Linked DNA regions of Homo sapiens: region 2 is linked to region 1. The links are contacts of gene promoters, found by promoter capture Hi-C in human tissues and cell types (Jung and others, 2019). All regions are on one chromosome and are shown on one strand. Each heading gives the region's core, a stretch centred on a gene start or on the middle of the fragment in contact. The rest is flanking DNA. Distances are from core to core; before and after follow the strand shown. Region 1 holds the start of IFIT1B (interferon induced protein with tetratricopeptide repeats 1B). Region 2 overlaps SLC16A12 (solute carrier family 16 member 12).

Region 1 (7,848 bases), core at 2,371-4,870:
CAGCTGGCAGCTCAACACAGCCCTCACTTTTCCCTCAGAGTCTCCATCTAAAAAACTCCCTACTATGCTTAGACCCTCCTTGAGTGCATTCCTGCCCACAATCCCAAGCCATCTTCTCCATCCTTGAGTCTGTGGAATATGAGAGTCCTGGCATATTGCTTTAGGATAGGACTGTATAGTTGACTGCTGAGATGAGGAGTCCCAGAAATCTTCCTTCCAGCTGTGGCCCAGGAAGATTACCCAATGAAACCTGTGTGTGGGGGTGTGTGTGGGACATATGCTGGGTGAGGTGGGGTCAGGAGTAAGTAAAATTAATATTGTGCTGAAGAATGCTCACTGAAAATAGTCACCACCCCTACAGAAGATGGAATCGGGAAGAGTTTTTGACCCAAATCGTCCACTCATGCCCCGTGGAGCTTGTGCTATGATGAGAACAGACACTACCCAGGGAAAATAATCCACACAGACTTCCATTACTCTAGAGCTGCTGGAATATTTGAAGATAAGCCATTCCAAGCTTTCTAAATATGTACCCAATCTCAGCATCTCAGCTGCTAGCCCACCCAGCACATTTGTGAGCAGTAGAAAGAGATCAGTCTTCCTCTGAGTGATCTAATCATGGCCATGCATTGATAGGTGGAAAAAAGTATACTAGATTTTGGCTTTCACTGAGATTGTAGAATTTCAAGTGCACAATTTACACAATCTTACAAGGCTGCCCTGCCAAGTTCCAGAAGAGAATTATTGCTCTTTCTTATAGGTGGTTGTTCATCAACATGTATCTTCTTGACTTGGGCCCTGGGAAGACTAAGGAGTAGAATATCACCCTAGAGGTGTCCTCACTCTCTAAAATGGAAATGCTGAGAGCCTAAAGTCCTCCTTTTATCTGGTGAGCATACAGAAAGTGCTGTTATTAGTAGTATACATATTATCATCAAATTAGGCCCCAGCGTGGTGGCTAATGCCTGTAATCCCAACACTTTGAGAGTCCAAGGCAGGTGAATTGCTTGAGCCCAGGAGTTCACGACCAGCATGGGCAACATAGCGAAACCATGTCTCTCAAAAAATACAAAAATTAGCCGGGCCTGGCGATGCACACCAGTAGTCCCAGCGACTTGGGCTGACGTGGGAGGATCACCTGAGCCCGGGCAGGTGGAGGCTGCAGTGAGCTGTGATCATGCCACTGCACTCCAGACTGGGTGACAGAGGGAGGCCCTGTCTGGAAAAAAAAAAAAAAAAAGATGAGTTTGTGCATGTATGTAGTGACCTAATCCCTGTATGCCTGTGGCAGACAGGGACTCGTCACCATGTTTTGTGAGGCATTTCCCTGGATCTTGTCCACTTAAGCTCCACTTAAGCTGTCTTGATCAATAAGCATGAATGGAAGGAGGAGCTCAATCTGCTCCTCTGTCCCTGAACCAGTGGGATCAGGAGGATTTTGATGTGGGCATTATTCAGTCTGGGATAGTCCAGATTCCCCTTAGGCCACCTCAGGTCAGTGGCTTCTAGAAACATACGCCCAGGCCATTGCAAAACCTCTCACATAGACTAGCTACCAAGGCAGCAGGGAATGAAAGGCTTGCTTTCTGTCAACTCCACAGATGCAGACACAACTAATACCTTTTGTTTTTTTTTTTTTTTGAGACGGAGTCTCACTCTGTTGCCCAGGCTGGAGTGCAGTGGTGCAATCTCGGCTCACTTCAAGCTCCGCCTCCCAGGTTCACGCCATTCTCCTGCCTCAGCCTCCTGAGTAGCTGGGACTACAGGCGCCCGCCACCACTCCCGGCTAATTTTTTGTATTTTTTAGAAGAGGCGGGGTTTCACCTTGTTAGTCAGGATGGTCTTGATCTCCTGACCTCGTGATCTGCCCATCTCGGCCTCCCAAAGTGCTGGGATTACAGGTGTGAGCCACCATGCCCAGCCACAACTAACATCTTATGACCAGGAGCCCGTTATATTAAAAAGAGAGACTTGGGTACTCTTGTGGTGAATTTTTTTGCAATCCTTCATTTATAATTTCTTCTCAAGACAGGTCTACATGTTTGCTAGAAAGGGATCTCAAAAGAGCAGCCCCTTTTTCTGTAAAGTTCTTCCTCTCCCACTGACTGCAACATCAGATGGGAGAACTCTAGCAGGTCAGAATACTTTTGAGTGAAAGCATTTTCTGCAGGTCACCAGTTCTAACTACACCAGGAAAAAAAGAAATATATATTTTGTGGAACAAACATATCACAATGCCTACAAAATTTCTTATTTTCTAACATCTAGTATAATGGTTTTTCAAATTTTAGCAGGCAACATGATCACCTGGAAAACTTATAACACACAGATTGATGGGCCCCACCCTAGAGTTTCTGAGTCAGCAGGTTTAGGGTAGGGCCTGAGAATTTGCATTTCTGCTACCTTCCCAAGTGATGCTGATGTTGCTAGTCAGGGGACCACACTTTGAGAACAGTTAATTCAGTGAAAAGCAAATTTCATAGTAATCACAATTTCATAGTTTCACAGTAATCACAAAATTTGACTTGGTATCAAAAACAAACAAACAACAGAAAAACAGCCATCTCTGAAAGTAGCTTCTTTTTCCCACGTGAATTTAACCAATTTATCAAATAAAAATAGCTGCTTCTTCTCACCTGGATGCCTAAAAGAGTATTTTGTATATTAAAAGGATCTCAATGCTCTTGCCCTGACTGGTCCCCGGGCCAGTCTCCTCTCTAGGCTCAGGCCTCTGTTCCCTGGTGAACAGTCTTTAAGTGTTGCCTGGGTAATTGTCCCTCTATTAGAAAGTGCTACAGAAATGACATCTTTGGAAATAAGATTGCTTTCTCGTTTATTTCCTTAAGAGCATTGCTGCTTTTATTAAGCCAGCTACCCTTACTAAGCGAGCTCTGTAACAGGAGTTAGGAAACTTGCCTCTACATATATTCTCATCTTGCCCCTCTGAATCTACTTTCCTACATTCTTCACCATGCTCTGTGCTTGGAAGCTGACTCTATGGACTTTATTAACTCCAAAACTCTTTTATTTTTTACTTTCTACTGGGGTTGGCCCACTGGGGAGCACCAGCCAGATATTAAATTGCAGGAGGAGGTGAAGGTCATGGAATTAATTCCTAAGCTCCCACTGTGCTCTGCTTGAGGTTGTCAGTGATTTTTTCACCAAAGGCCTCTTGAGAAGCCCCTCCCCTACAGCTATAGCTTAGAGTCTCCTTGGGTCTGGTTCTCTCCTCTTGCTCCTGTAGGCCCAGGGTTATCATGTTACCACTGTTGTAAACCAACACGCCTCTTCCCGCTGCCCTGCAACCAACAAGCACCATTTCCTGTTGATTTCCCTAAACTTTGCCCATATCGTCTTAAATAGCCCCCTTATTAAACTCTTCTTGGTTATCATGTTGAGGGTGCCTATCAGGGTCAGAACCACCAGTGGGACAGCTCCCTTAGGAGAAGGCCTGTCAAAAAATTGGCCCTTAAGGAAAGTTTTAGAATTTCAAAGTGTGCAGAAATAAGGTCAGTGAAGCAGAGAAAGACTTTACCTCATGGTGCTATGAAGATAGCAGGTGATCTGTAGTGCTTTGGTTCAGGCTTGGAGGCTCCTTCAAGGTTCATCCACAGAGTTCTAGGGCTTCTCAGATAAGCATGGTGCTTATATATGGGAGGTATATCCAGGCAGTTTTTTACACCCTTGATGCCTAGTGAATTGGCAGGGTGAAAATGATACAGAGGAATAGGGCTGTCTCTGCTTTGATTACAAATACATGCTGAGTTTTGGCAGCTAAGAGGATGGGTGTGTGAGAAGCAGTTTTGATACGCAAATTCCCTTGCTGGAGTCAATGTGGTGTAGGAGATAGAGGGTAACTGGACTTTATGATGACATTCAGTGTTGTGGAAAAACCAGTGGCAGACAGGAACGTATATTTTTGTGAATCATGTCAGACTCTGTTGTCAAACTTGTTACTATCACATGTATCCCGCCAGGTGGTTCCAGGGACGTCTACAATGGAAGCTCCTTAGACCAGGGTCAGTGGTTTGTGCCTAAAAGAATACTGTAGAAAGTCATTGTCAATTTGTGGAAGAATGAGGTTGCAGATGGTTAGGTCTTCTTCTGTGGGGCTGTGTTAGGCAAAACAACTCCTCAATTTTGAGATATTGGTCTATAAGAAGGGTCCCATACTGGTTACATCCTCCAGCAGCATTTGCATTACTGCCAACCCTGGCTATAGTGGAGCCTATTCAAGCATATTGACTGTTTTGATGATCTTTACTGTTCACCATTAGTGGTTCAAACAACAATGTTTGAGCTGGTCAGTAGAGAAACATATGCAATGTAGTCAGAGAATGTGATGGGGTCATGGGGGTTAAAAATCTAAATCCAAATTCACATAGTTCTTCTGAGTTGTCCTTATGTTTCTTCTGTTTCTACTATTTTGAAGATTATCTGTTACAAAGCAACAACCATCAGAGAGTCAATCAAACAATGTTCACATGTTTAATGAAAAATTTATATGATCCCAAGGCTGATGTAATTGCCCACACAATTAGCAGAGAAAAAGGAAAATTTGGAAAGCTGCTATTCTGAATTCCTCTTGTGAATTGTTACAATGTCATCCTGTACGTTTCTGGATCTTGGTTTTGTAGGGGTAGTGCACCAAGATAAGCAAAAGGGCAAAGACTGAGAGCGATTTCCCTCTGAGTGAGCATTTCAAGGTAGGGTTATTAACTTCATTACAGTCTTCTCATAATTACCAAATGAAACTGTAGCCTCGCTGTGCTATTTCTTCTTTGTCCTGGGCCTGTAACTAGACTATATTTCCCAGGCTCCCATGTGGTAAGGTGTGGTCATGGGCATGGGATGGGAGGCTGTCAGGAAGCAGAAATGATTCTATAATTGGGTATCTTAAATTGTGTCTGGAAAAAGAGAAGACTAGACCAAGGTGACAGGTGTAATTTGAAAGGAAGCAGCAGTCATTCATATTGGCCAGTTTAAGGGGCTGCTTGATTATTTTCGAATCCAGTTGGAAAATATTCGTATTTTTGTCTGCACTCAGACCTGATTACAGAGTGGCCTTGTATTTTGTCTTGACCCATCATGGTCACAGGTGTTAATGATGCTCTCAGATGTCTGGGGCAGCTCTTCTCTTTCTTTTCAGGGAACTTCTGAGTTACTGCTCCAGTTACTGCTCCTGACCTTTCTAAAGCCAAAAATTATATAGACAAGAAGGACTACCCAGAAAAGGAACGTCACATAAGATCTTATGCATTCACAGTTGAAATGAGAGCAGACATCTTAGGAAAAGAATATGCTTAAGAAAGAGTATAGTATATAATCTCTCTCTCTATGTGAATTAAAAACCCATCTCCACGTCTATTCAAGGAAGGATTTAGGCAACTTGAGATAGACCACATCTCCCCATTCGCATGAGACAAGTTCCTAGAAGAATGTGCTGGACCTCTTGACTTCTTCTTCTTTTTTTTTTTTTTTTTTTTTTAAGATAGAGTCTCGCTGTATCACCTAGGCTGGAGTACAGTGGCACTATCTCTGCTCACTGCAACCTCTGCCTCCCAGGTTCAAGTGATTCTCATGCCTCAGCCTCCAGAGTAGCTGGCACTACAGGTGTGCACCACCATACCCAGCTATTTTTTTGTATTTTTAGTAGAGATGGGGTTTCACCATGTTGGCCATCCTGGTTTCGAACTCCTGACCTCAGGTGATGCACCTGTGTTGGCCTCCTAAAGTGTGGGATTACAGGTGTGAGCCACTGCACCTGGCCCGTCTTGACATCTTACAAGCACAGGATATCATTTAGATCCATGTATTCTTCCATAAACCCACCAAATCTCAACATTACTTAAGTAATGAGAATCCCCATTTTATTCCTTGAGTATACTCTAATAATAAAAGTAGGCAGAAAAATTCTCTAAGCATAATGACAGCACAGAAATGGAGGTTAGAACCATTCAGGGGAATGAGGGAAAGGAAACTAGGCCCACGTAGCCCTGCTGTGGAAGACCAAGTTTGCTGAAAGGGAAGAATGATTGTTAGTCAAACATTGTTCCATCTGGGGTTGAGCAAACCAAGGCCATTAGAAAAAACCTTCTACACCTGTCAGGTGACAGAATCACCTGATGGAGGGGGTTCTGCACAGATATTTGCCATCTTGTTTATTTTGGGGTTGTGTACTCTGAGTATAAGACAATAGCACCCCATCATAGAACAACCATTATTCTATATTTGGGGCCAATGGGATGTTTTCTTCTGAGGTTTCCTTTCTTGCTCTGCAGCTTGGGCATAATGAGAACTATTAAAACCCTTTACCTTTACTTGTCTTTGTGCGCACAAGATGATGTTGCTCAGTAGTGAAGGCCACCTGGAATCAGACTACCTGGGGTCATTAATGGACTTTGCTGCTTACTGGACATGTGATCTTGGGATAGTTGGTTCACATTTCTAAGCCACATTTACTTACCCATGGAATCGGAATAGCACTAGGACTTTCGTCATGGGGTTATGTTGAGATGAAGTGGGATATTGCATGGAAAGCATGTCTCATTTAACAGCATTCAGTAATTGTGAGTGTTGCTTTCACAGTGTGGGACAAGTCCCCTTATCTGTGCAGTCTGTGCTGACCATTAGCTGGAGCCCTTCCAGACTACAATTTTTCCCAGTGGGCACTGAGAGAGAGGTGTTTCATGTCATATCTGACTGTGCAGCTGCTGAGATAGGGGTGTCCTGTTCTGAGCTTCAGGCCAGGGCAATCTACATATTCCCATCTCAGGCTCAGGTCAGGGAGCCCTGGCCATATCTACACATAGAGCCCAGCAGTACCTCTTGGGCAGCAGGCATTCAACCTCTCCCTAGTGAGGATGGACCTGTGTAGGGGGAGAAGAGATTTTGGAATGGGACTCATTTCCTCTCAGCTCTCTCTCTCCAGTTCTGTATCAGATGGGAAGCTTCTAGGAGGCCAATTGTGTTTTCAGATACAAATATCTTCTGTAAGGCACTAGCCCTGAATCAACTCTAAAAGGGATAGAAACATAAGCAAATACTGAAATGAACATTAGGAGAGCTGCTTACACTGAGAGTAGTATGACTTTGGAATTTTCATGCATAAAATTATTGCTAGTAACAGCGTGTCAGAGAAACAGAGTGAGTGTTTGTCATGTGGTCACTGAATTTGGCAGCAGTCCTGGTTCTGTGAGGCTCTGGCTCAACTGATTAGGTATTCAGGATCTGGCCCAGTGTGTCCTTGGATAAATACAGCCATGAACCACACAGGACAGAGCAACAATAAGGAAACAGCCAACACATTGTGTAAGAGAGAGAGAGAGAGAGTGTGTGTGTGTCTGTGTCTACAAATAGGAAAAAAACAATGGAAACTAGAGAGGGAAACTCATTTCTAATGGGCAGGATGCCTACTTGTAGAAATGAAACTTAAGCATTGGAGAAATAAAACTTAACCACTATCAACATTCCAGAACCAGCTCTGTGTTCGACGAACTAGCAGAGTGAACTTGATTTCACTTAAACACTGAGTTTCCTCATCAGGTATAGAAAAAGGTTGGCCTTGAACAGTGGTTTACAACCTTGGGCTGCAAGGTTGTAAAATTCCTTGGAAGTCTTTTAAAAATGCAGATGCCTGAGCCAATCTCCAGCCCAATCAATCAGAATCTCTGGAAGTGAAGCCCAGGCATGAGTATTATCAGTAAGTTTTCTGAAAAAAGTAATCCCAAAGTGATTTTTTTGTGCATGGTTTAAAACCACTAGACTAGATTTTTGCTACTCAGGATATGGTCTGTTACAGTGGCATCCTCAACTACTAAAAGCCCAGAAATGCAGAATATCAGGCCC
Region 2 (7,405 bases), core at 76-2,575, 150 kb before region 1:
GGTGTTCTGTTGTTATTTTGTCTCACTTTACATTTTGTCCCCCACTTTCCTCCATATTCATAGACTATTAGACATTCCAGTTTTAAGCATTTTCTAATTCTCTCAATTGCTTTTTCTTCAAAACAGCATAGTTTGCAAGCTCAGGCATGTTTATTGTTTTTAACAAAGGCTTATCGAAATGAACTTGGCAGTTTTTCAGTCGTATACAGCCAAAGAAAAGTATTCAGTGCCGCTTTTGGGGTTGTTTATGCATTCCTCACCTAACCAGTTGCTTTGCTTTTAAAAATTGCCAATTTGGAAGCTATTTTCTTATGAGTACCTTTCCAGTGTATATAAAAAGTCACCCATTGAAATGATATAATAATTTAATTGATGAAAACTAAATACACAGTTGAAGAGGTTGGGGGATTTTGAACAGAAAGATTTTCCCTCTGATAATATTTTTAATGTGCTCTACATCAAAGGACATCAGAAAGTGTCATTATCTAACAATGTCCTGTTTGAAGGTGGTGTCTGTTGAACATTTGGGGAACAGTCACAATTTCTGATGCATGCTAGGCACCTGGAGTAGCTGATTTTTTTTTCTTCATTCACCCACCACTGTGCCCCATCAGATACATATCCTTCCTTCATTTACCGCGCATTGACGAGTAGGGTTAATTGCTGTAGCCAGGTAAGATGTTGCATGAAATTAATTAATTATTTAATTAGTGTGCTCATTCATTTATTAATTTAATGAATATTTATTGAACTTCTACTTCTTATTAAAAGATTTGTATAAGGATTTGTGTGAAGACTGTGTTTTGAGCATCTCTTTTCTGGTGCTGGTGACAGCAGGACGTGTAAAGACACAGAACATGCCTCTGATGCAGCTTACATCCTGGTATGGAAGAGAGGACATTGTATGGCTAGCTATCATACCGATTCAAACTACCATAAGAGATGCATAAGTACTTTGGGAATTAAAAGGAAGAAGAGAGAGCAGGCAGGCACTGTGAAGATTTGAGGGTTAGGGAAGACTTTGTAGAGGAGGGCCCATTGGAGTTGCTTCTTGAAAGATGGTAAAGCACGGTAAAGCTTTTATAGAGGCAGAGGATATACCTATCTTTATGGCAGCACATCCTTGCCTCTTTTTGAAGACACGTAGAGAACTTCCTCTTGGGAACCAGTTGAGGCTGTGTTGGGTCATATAATAGACACTTATCACCTCTCTGCCCCTCTACATGCATGTGACTCTGTTCTGCTTAATGAAATACTGCCCAACACTGAAACAACTCATTGGATTAACCAATGCTCTCCTCCTCTGAACCACATCCTGGTGGTTGCTCAGACACAGAGACCGCTGTGGGAAATAGCTATCATCTTAATAAATTTGTATACTTGGCTGTTACTAGGTCAGGTGCATGCTTACAGCGGTGTTTGGTTACAGTCCAGTTTATGCCAGTTGTACTTTGCTATTGTATTTTTGTTTTTTTCTTTGAGACAGAGCCTTGCTCTGTCACCCAGGCTGGAGTGCAGTGGTGTATTTCGACTCACTGCAACATCCGCCTCCCTGGTTCAAGTAATTTTCCCACCTCAGCCTCCTGAGTAGCTGGGATTACAGGCATCCACCACCATGCCTGGCTAATTTTTGTACTTTTTTTTTTTTTAGTAGAGACAGGATATCACCATGTTGGCAAGGCTGGTCTCGAACTCCTGACCTCAGGTGATCTGCCTGCCTTGGCCTCCCAAAGTGCCAGGATGCTATTGTAATTTTGTGATTTAATGAAATATTGCCTAAACCGATGTAATATGAATGCTAAACAAAGAATGGTATTTCTGTGAAAACTAAGTTGATCGCTATATGGACCCATAAAAGTAAGTAATGTTAAAAAAAATATATCAACACATGCTGCGACATGGATGAACCTTGAAAACATTATGCTAAGTGAAAGAAGCCAGATACAAAGACCACATGTTGTATGATTTATATGAAATGTCCATAATAAGCAAATGCATATGAACAAAAAGTGGATTAGTGATTGCCAGGGAAGTGGGGTAGGGGAAATAGAGAGTGACTGATGATGGATGCAAGGTTCCTTTTTGGGGTGACGGCTATGTTCTGGAATTAGATAATGGGGTGGTGGTTGCACAACATTGTAAATATATGAAAACCACCAGCCGGGCGCCGTGGCTCACACCTGTAATCCCAGCACTTTGGGAGGCCGGGGCGGGCAAATCACAAGGTCGGGAGATCGAGAGCATCCTGGCTAACACGGTGAAACCCCGTCTCTAGTACTAAAGTACAAAAAATTAGCCGGGCGTGGTGGTAGGCGCCTGTAGTCCCAGCTACTCGGGAGGCTGAGGCAGGAGAATGGCATGAACCCAGGAGGCGGAGCTTGCAGTGAGCCAAGATCCCGCCACTGCACTCCAGCCTGGGCAACAGAGCGAGACTCCGTCTCAGAAAAAAAAGAAAAAAAAAAACCACCAAATTTTACATTTTAAAAGTATTAAAATAGTGAAGTTTATGTGAATTTTATCTCAATTTATAAAAGGACTATAAAGCTTTTTAAAAAGCAACATGAACAAGCAAATTACAAAAGGAAGAGGGATGAGTACTTAGGTGTGGCATAGTGATAAGAGATTTGAAGAGTACAGTAAAAATTTCTAGAATGATTTTGCATTCAGGTTTTTTCACAAGCTCCAATAAGGTCCTGATCCTCTTTAAGAAATGGAAGCAGGAAATCTGGATGTGGATTAACCAAGAAAAATAACATAGAACTCCAATCATGACCCAATATCCAAAGATTAGTGAATGAATTTTTTGTTTATGAAAGGAATTGAAACAAAATGTTCAAAATATGTTGTATCAACTTTTTGACTCTGCTTTTCCTGACTTCTGATTACTTTACTGCTGAGAGCTTCTAATGTTTCCATTTCTGAGGGTACCCTGTATATTTTGAAAATAACTCATTTCTGTATCTAGAGAGAAATTCCATGTCTATGAGCCTCTTATAGATATAGCATTAGTCACTTAAGACTGTAAAGGAGGCCGGGTGCAGTGGCTCATGCCTGTAATTCCAGCACTTTGGGAGGTTGAGGCGGGTGGATCACCTGAGGTCAGGAGTTCGAGACTAGCGTGGCCAACATGGCGAAACCCCGTCTCTACTAAAAATACAAAAATTAGCTGGGCGTGGTGGCACGTGCCTGTAATCCCAGCTACTAGGGGGGCTGAGGCAGGAGGATGGCTTGAACCTGGGAGGTGTAGGTTGCAGTGAGCCGAGATTGTGCCACTGCACTCCAGCCTGGGCAACAGAGAGAGACTGTCTCAAAAAAAAAAAAAAAAAAGACTGTAAAGGAAATTGGGACTCAGTTTCCCAACTTCTGAATCACCATAAAAATCAGCAACTGTTTCCCCCTAACACCGTCTTCTGGCTCGGTGGTTCATATATGTAAACAAAGTAGCTACATAAAGTGTTAACTATACCAATACTTAAAAATTATCACCCAAATCATTTGTAGACTATGTTTTTTTCAAAATATTCCTGAGCACAATTAATCATTTTGTGGTTTATTTGACATATTATAAATTAGGGCCATAATTACTTATTTTGGGATTCCACTTTGCTTGATGGAATACTTTCCATGGGAGTGAGTTCATATTTATCTACTGAAACCAGATGTATTTCTTGAAACAGAAATTTCAGCTCTCTGAACCTGTAACTTCAAAGCAACCACATTCATAGCCCCCGAAGGAACCACCAAAAAAATAAAAACTCACGACAAAGTTAAATCTCATAAGGGAGAACAGAATGCTGCTTCTTCAGGCAGTGATAGTTCAACCAGACAACTATCAAAAACCAGCCTTAATCATCATTATTAAATAGTTATGAATAGGGGTAGCCCAAACTCACAGGCATAAATGATATAAAAAATAAATGGTCTGTTCAGGTTGACACCTGACAACCTAGTATCCATAAATCAGTTGATTGAAGACTCTGTATCAATGGTTCTCAACCCCACCTACACATTAGAATCACCTGAGGAAGGAAAAAAACTGGTACCAATGTCCTACTCTGAAAAATTCTGATTCCGTAGGTCTGAGATACAGGGCTAGGGTATTGATAGTTTTTAAATCTCTCTGGTGAATCTCATGTACAGCCAGGGTTGAGAAACTATGGACATATGTAATAATAATTTTGTGCCTCTTTAGAAAAAAATTTTATTGAAACATAAAATTTCATGTGTGGTATATTCTTAACATATAATGGAAATTTTTTGTGTGTGCATTTTCTCTATAGAGGGCCCATTCATTATATGGAAAGCTTTTCCCAATGGTTGAATGAATGTTCAGTGATTTTTTTTCTTCTCTGTGGAATTCACTAGGCTTATGTGTATAAGATGTCAAAACAACCAAATCAACACAATTGATATAATTACTGTCAACCAATGAATTAATTAACCAACTATTTTCAAGTTTTTGATGATTGTGGTACCATATGGGTATTTTTGTTTAGGACAATAATTTGGCCTTTTACTCTACAACAATAATGTGTTTCCTCTAAAATACTTACAGATGTGTCCTTTATTATGTGTTTCTTTAAATTGATTGAGTTGTCAACCTTAATACTCAAACTTTCTCTGAAAACTTTCTGTTTTTATTCAATTGCATCAAATTAAATAAAAAGGGTTATCTTGGGACAGGGTCTCTCTTTGTCACCCAGGCTGGAGTGCAGTGGCCTTATCAGGGCCCACTGCAGCCTCGACCTCCCAGGCTCAAGCAATCCTCCCATCTCAACCTCCCAAGTTGCTAGGACTACAGGCATGAGCCACCATGCCTGGCCAGACTTTTATATAAGAAAGATATTATATAGGACTCTTACGTAAGAAAGATAGGAGTTTAAACCTTGCCCTATGTGACTTCAACAAAGTATGATTAATTTTAGAGCTTTCCTTGTCATTAGGATTTATTGTTTTTGAGAAAATGTGGTGAGGTGACTGATACAGATTCTGAAGATTTATCTAGTAGACTACTCCTACTTAGAATTCACCTCTTTTTTTCTTTTCTCTCTCTCTCTCTCTCTTTTTTTTTTTAAGAGATGGGGTCTCACTGTCACCCAGGCTGGAGTGCAGTGGTGCAATGATGGTTCATTGCAGCCTTGAACTACTAGGCTCAGGCAGTCCTGCTTCAGCCTCCAAAGTAGCTGGAACTACAGGTGGGCACCACCATGCCCAGATAAATAATTTTTTTTTTTTTTGTAGAAATGGAAATGGAGTCTTACTATGTTTTTCCAGGCTGGACTTAAACTCCTGAGCTCAAGCAATCCTCTCTCCTCAGCCTCCCAAAGTGCTGAGATTATAGATGTAAGCTACCATGCCAGCCCCTTATTTTTTTAGTTTTATTATTTTTTTTTTGAGGTGGAGTCTCACTCTTTCACCCAGACTGGAGTGCAATGGCATGATCTCGGCTTGCTGCAACCTCTGCCTCCTGGGTTCAAGCGATTCTCCTGCCTCAGCCTCCTGAGTAGCTGGGATTACAGGCACCTGCCACCACACCCGGCTAATTTTTGTATTTTTAGTAGAGACGGGGTTTCACCACGTTGGTCAGGCTGGTCTCAAACTTCTGACCTCAAGTGATCTGCCCACCTCGGCCTCCCAAAGTGCTGGGATTACAGGCATGAGCCACCACGCCCTACTCAGCCCCTTATTTTTTTTAATTTGTTCTTATTTGGTTTTAATGCTCATGGAGATTCTCACCCACTGTTACCAGTTAGCTTCCCCAAATTACACTTTAACTGTTGATTTTGTAATAAAAATAAATAAATTTTTATCCACGAATAAAAATCTTAATGGATTTTGGCCAGTAGATTTTAAACTGTATTTTGCAAATTCCTGGGAGTATCAGGGAGCACCTCTGGAGCTGTGTTACAGGGCATGAGGGCAATGGGTGGCAGACCGATGTCCAGCTTCCAGCTTTGGGCTCCTTTCTGGTGGCCCCTTCTGCTATCTGAGTAGGTGTTCTGTTCTTGATTTCTTAATGGATTTTGGCCAGTAGATTTTAAACTGTATTTTGCACATTCCTGGGAGTATCAGGGAGCACCTCTGGAGCTGTGTTACAGGGCATGAGGGCAATGGGTGGCGGACCGATGTCCAGCTTCCACCTTTGGGCTCCTTTCTGGTGGCCCCTTCTGCTATCTGAGCAGGTGTCCTGTGCTTGATTTCACATATTTGGTTTCCAAGTAAGATTTTATTTGAACAAAGGATTTCTTGGCCAAAACAAGTTTGTAAGTGATTGGGCCACATGTTTCTAAGTTTCTGCTTCCTGTTCCTTGCCAAATTTGTTTTATATTCTGGCAGCTCCTAATTGTTTCAAGCTACGACTGCGGATCTGTGTTGAAAAGCCTGGGAAATCTTCGGTCTTAATAACTTTATAACTTTGATGCCTGTGGGGAGAGATAACCAAGTAAGCAGTTAGATATTTACAGCAAGAACTATAGCTTGGGAGTTATCAGTATAGGGACTCAGTTCAAGTTATATGTCTCCCCAGGAGAGTGTTTCTAGAGAGGGGTGAGATGGGTCAAAGATCAAATTCTGGGGAATAGCTATGCTGGGCTAAGTGCCGTTCTCTGTATTCACGTTAACCAAATGTGCATTTTGGTTAATGAAGTTTGCATTTCATATTTTAATTTTATAATTCCCCCATGTACAGTTGTACATAACTGCCAAAAGAGTTGATGCATGGGTATATATGTGTGTGGGGGCGGGGGGTAGCATGATGGGGTCAGAGGACAGGGCTTGGAAACCAGCCAAGGATGCTTATCCTTTCTTTGAAAACCCTGCATCATGCACAAATCACTGGGGCCCCTTCTACATGCAGGTTGAAGTGCACAATGAGAGGATAAACTTGGGTGGTTACCTAGTGAATTTGGCAATTCAGACAGCTGTTGTGGCATTTTTTGACATAAAATTATTTGTTAAGAAATATCACGGTTTCTTACCTTAAAAAATCCAGACATTTCCCCCGTATCTTAGTTCTCCCTTGTGGAACTTGAATAGTGACTGCTAGGTTTTGGGTGTGATCCCATGGACGTTTAGGTCAAATCCCCACTCCACATGGGTCTGTAGCTAATTGTGTTTTATTGACACAGACTCCACCCTCAATGCCAGCCGGCTCTTTGGTAAATTTAGTCATGAGGAACACCTGGCAACAGCTACTAACTTAATTAAAAAATTCAAAAACACTCTTAGAAAAAGGCAGAGTACCTAGATAAAGAACAAATAAATACTCATAAATAAGATACTTGTTAAAATTATTTTACCGGATAATTGAAGTGTTCCAGTGATTAAGGGACTCGTCATTTTATCAAAATTAAGCCCCATACATTTTTTCCTTCCTTTCTTACTTGCTGAGATTGACTTCTTTCGT

What was found. Contacts are between HindIII fragments. The study calls those that stand out against the background at their distance.
Region 2: a fragment that was not itself captured here is called in contact with the fragment with the promoter of IFIT1B in region 1 in 1 of the 25 tissues and cell types used here (aorta).

What each region holds. Positions count from the first base shown.
Region 1 is chr10:89,373,828-89,381,675 of GRCh38, reverse strand. It overlaps IFIT1B (interferon induced protein with tetratricopeptide repeats 1B), which reads right to left and starts at 3,620. Exons shown (of 2, transcript NM_001010987.2): 1 at 3,536-3,620. The coding sequence starts at 3,540. It also overlaps a transcript of LIPA not described here. The HindIII fragment of the contact is 9,233 bases long and covers 1-7,848 here.
Region 2 is chr10:89,525,472-89,532,876 of GRCh38, reverse strand. The region is part of intron 2 of SLC16A12 (solute carrier family 16 member 12); the gene reads left to right. Among named protein-coding and RNA genes, the nearest start is that of SLC16A12, 6.4 kb to the left of the region's middle. The HindIII fragment of the contact is 4,199 bases long and covers 1-3,424 here.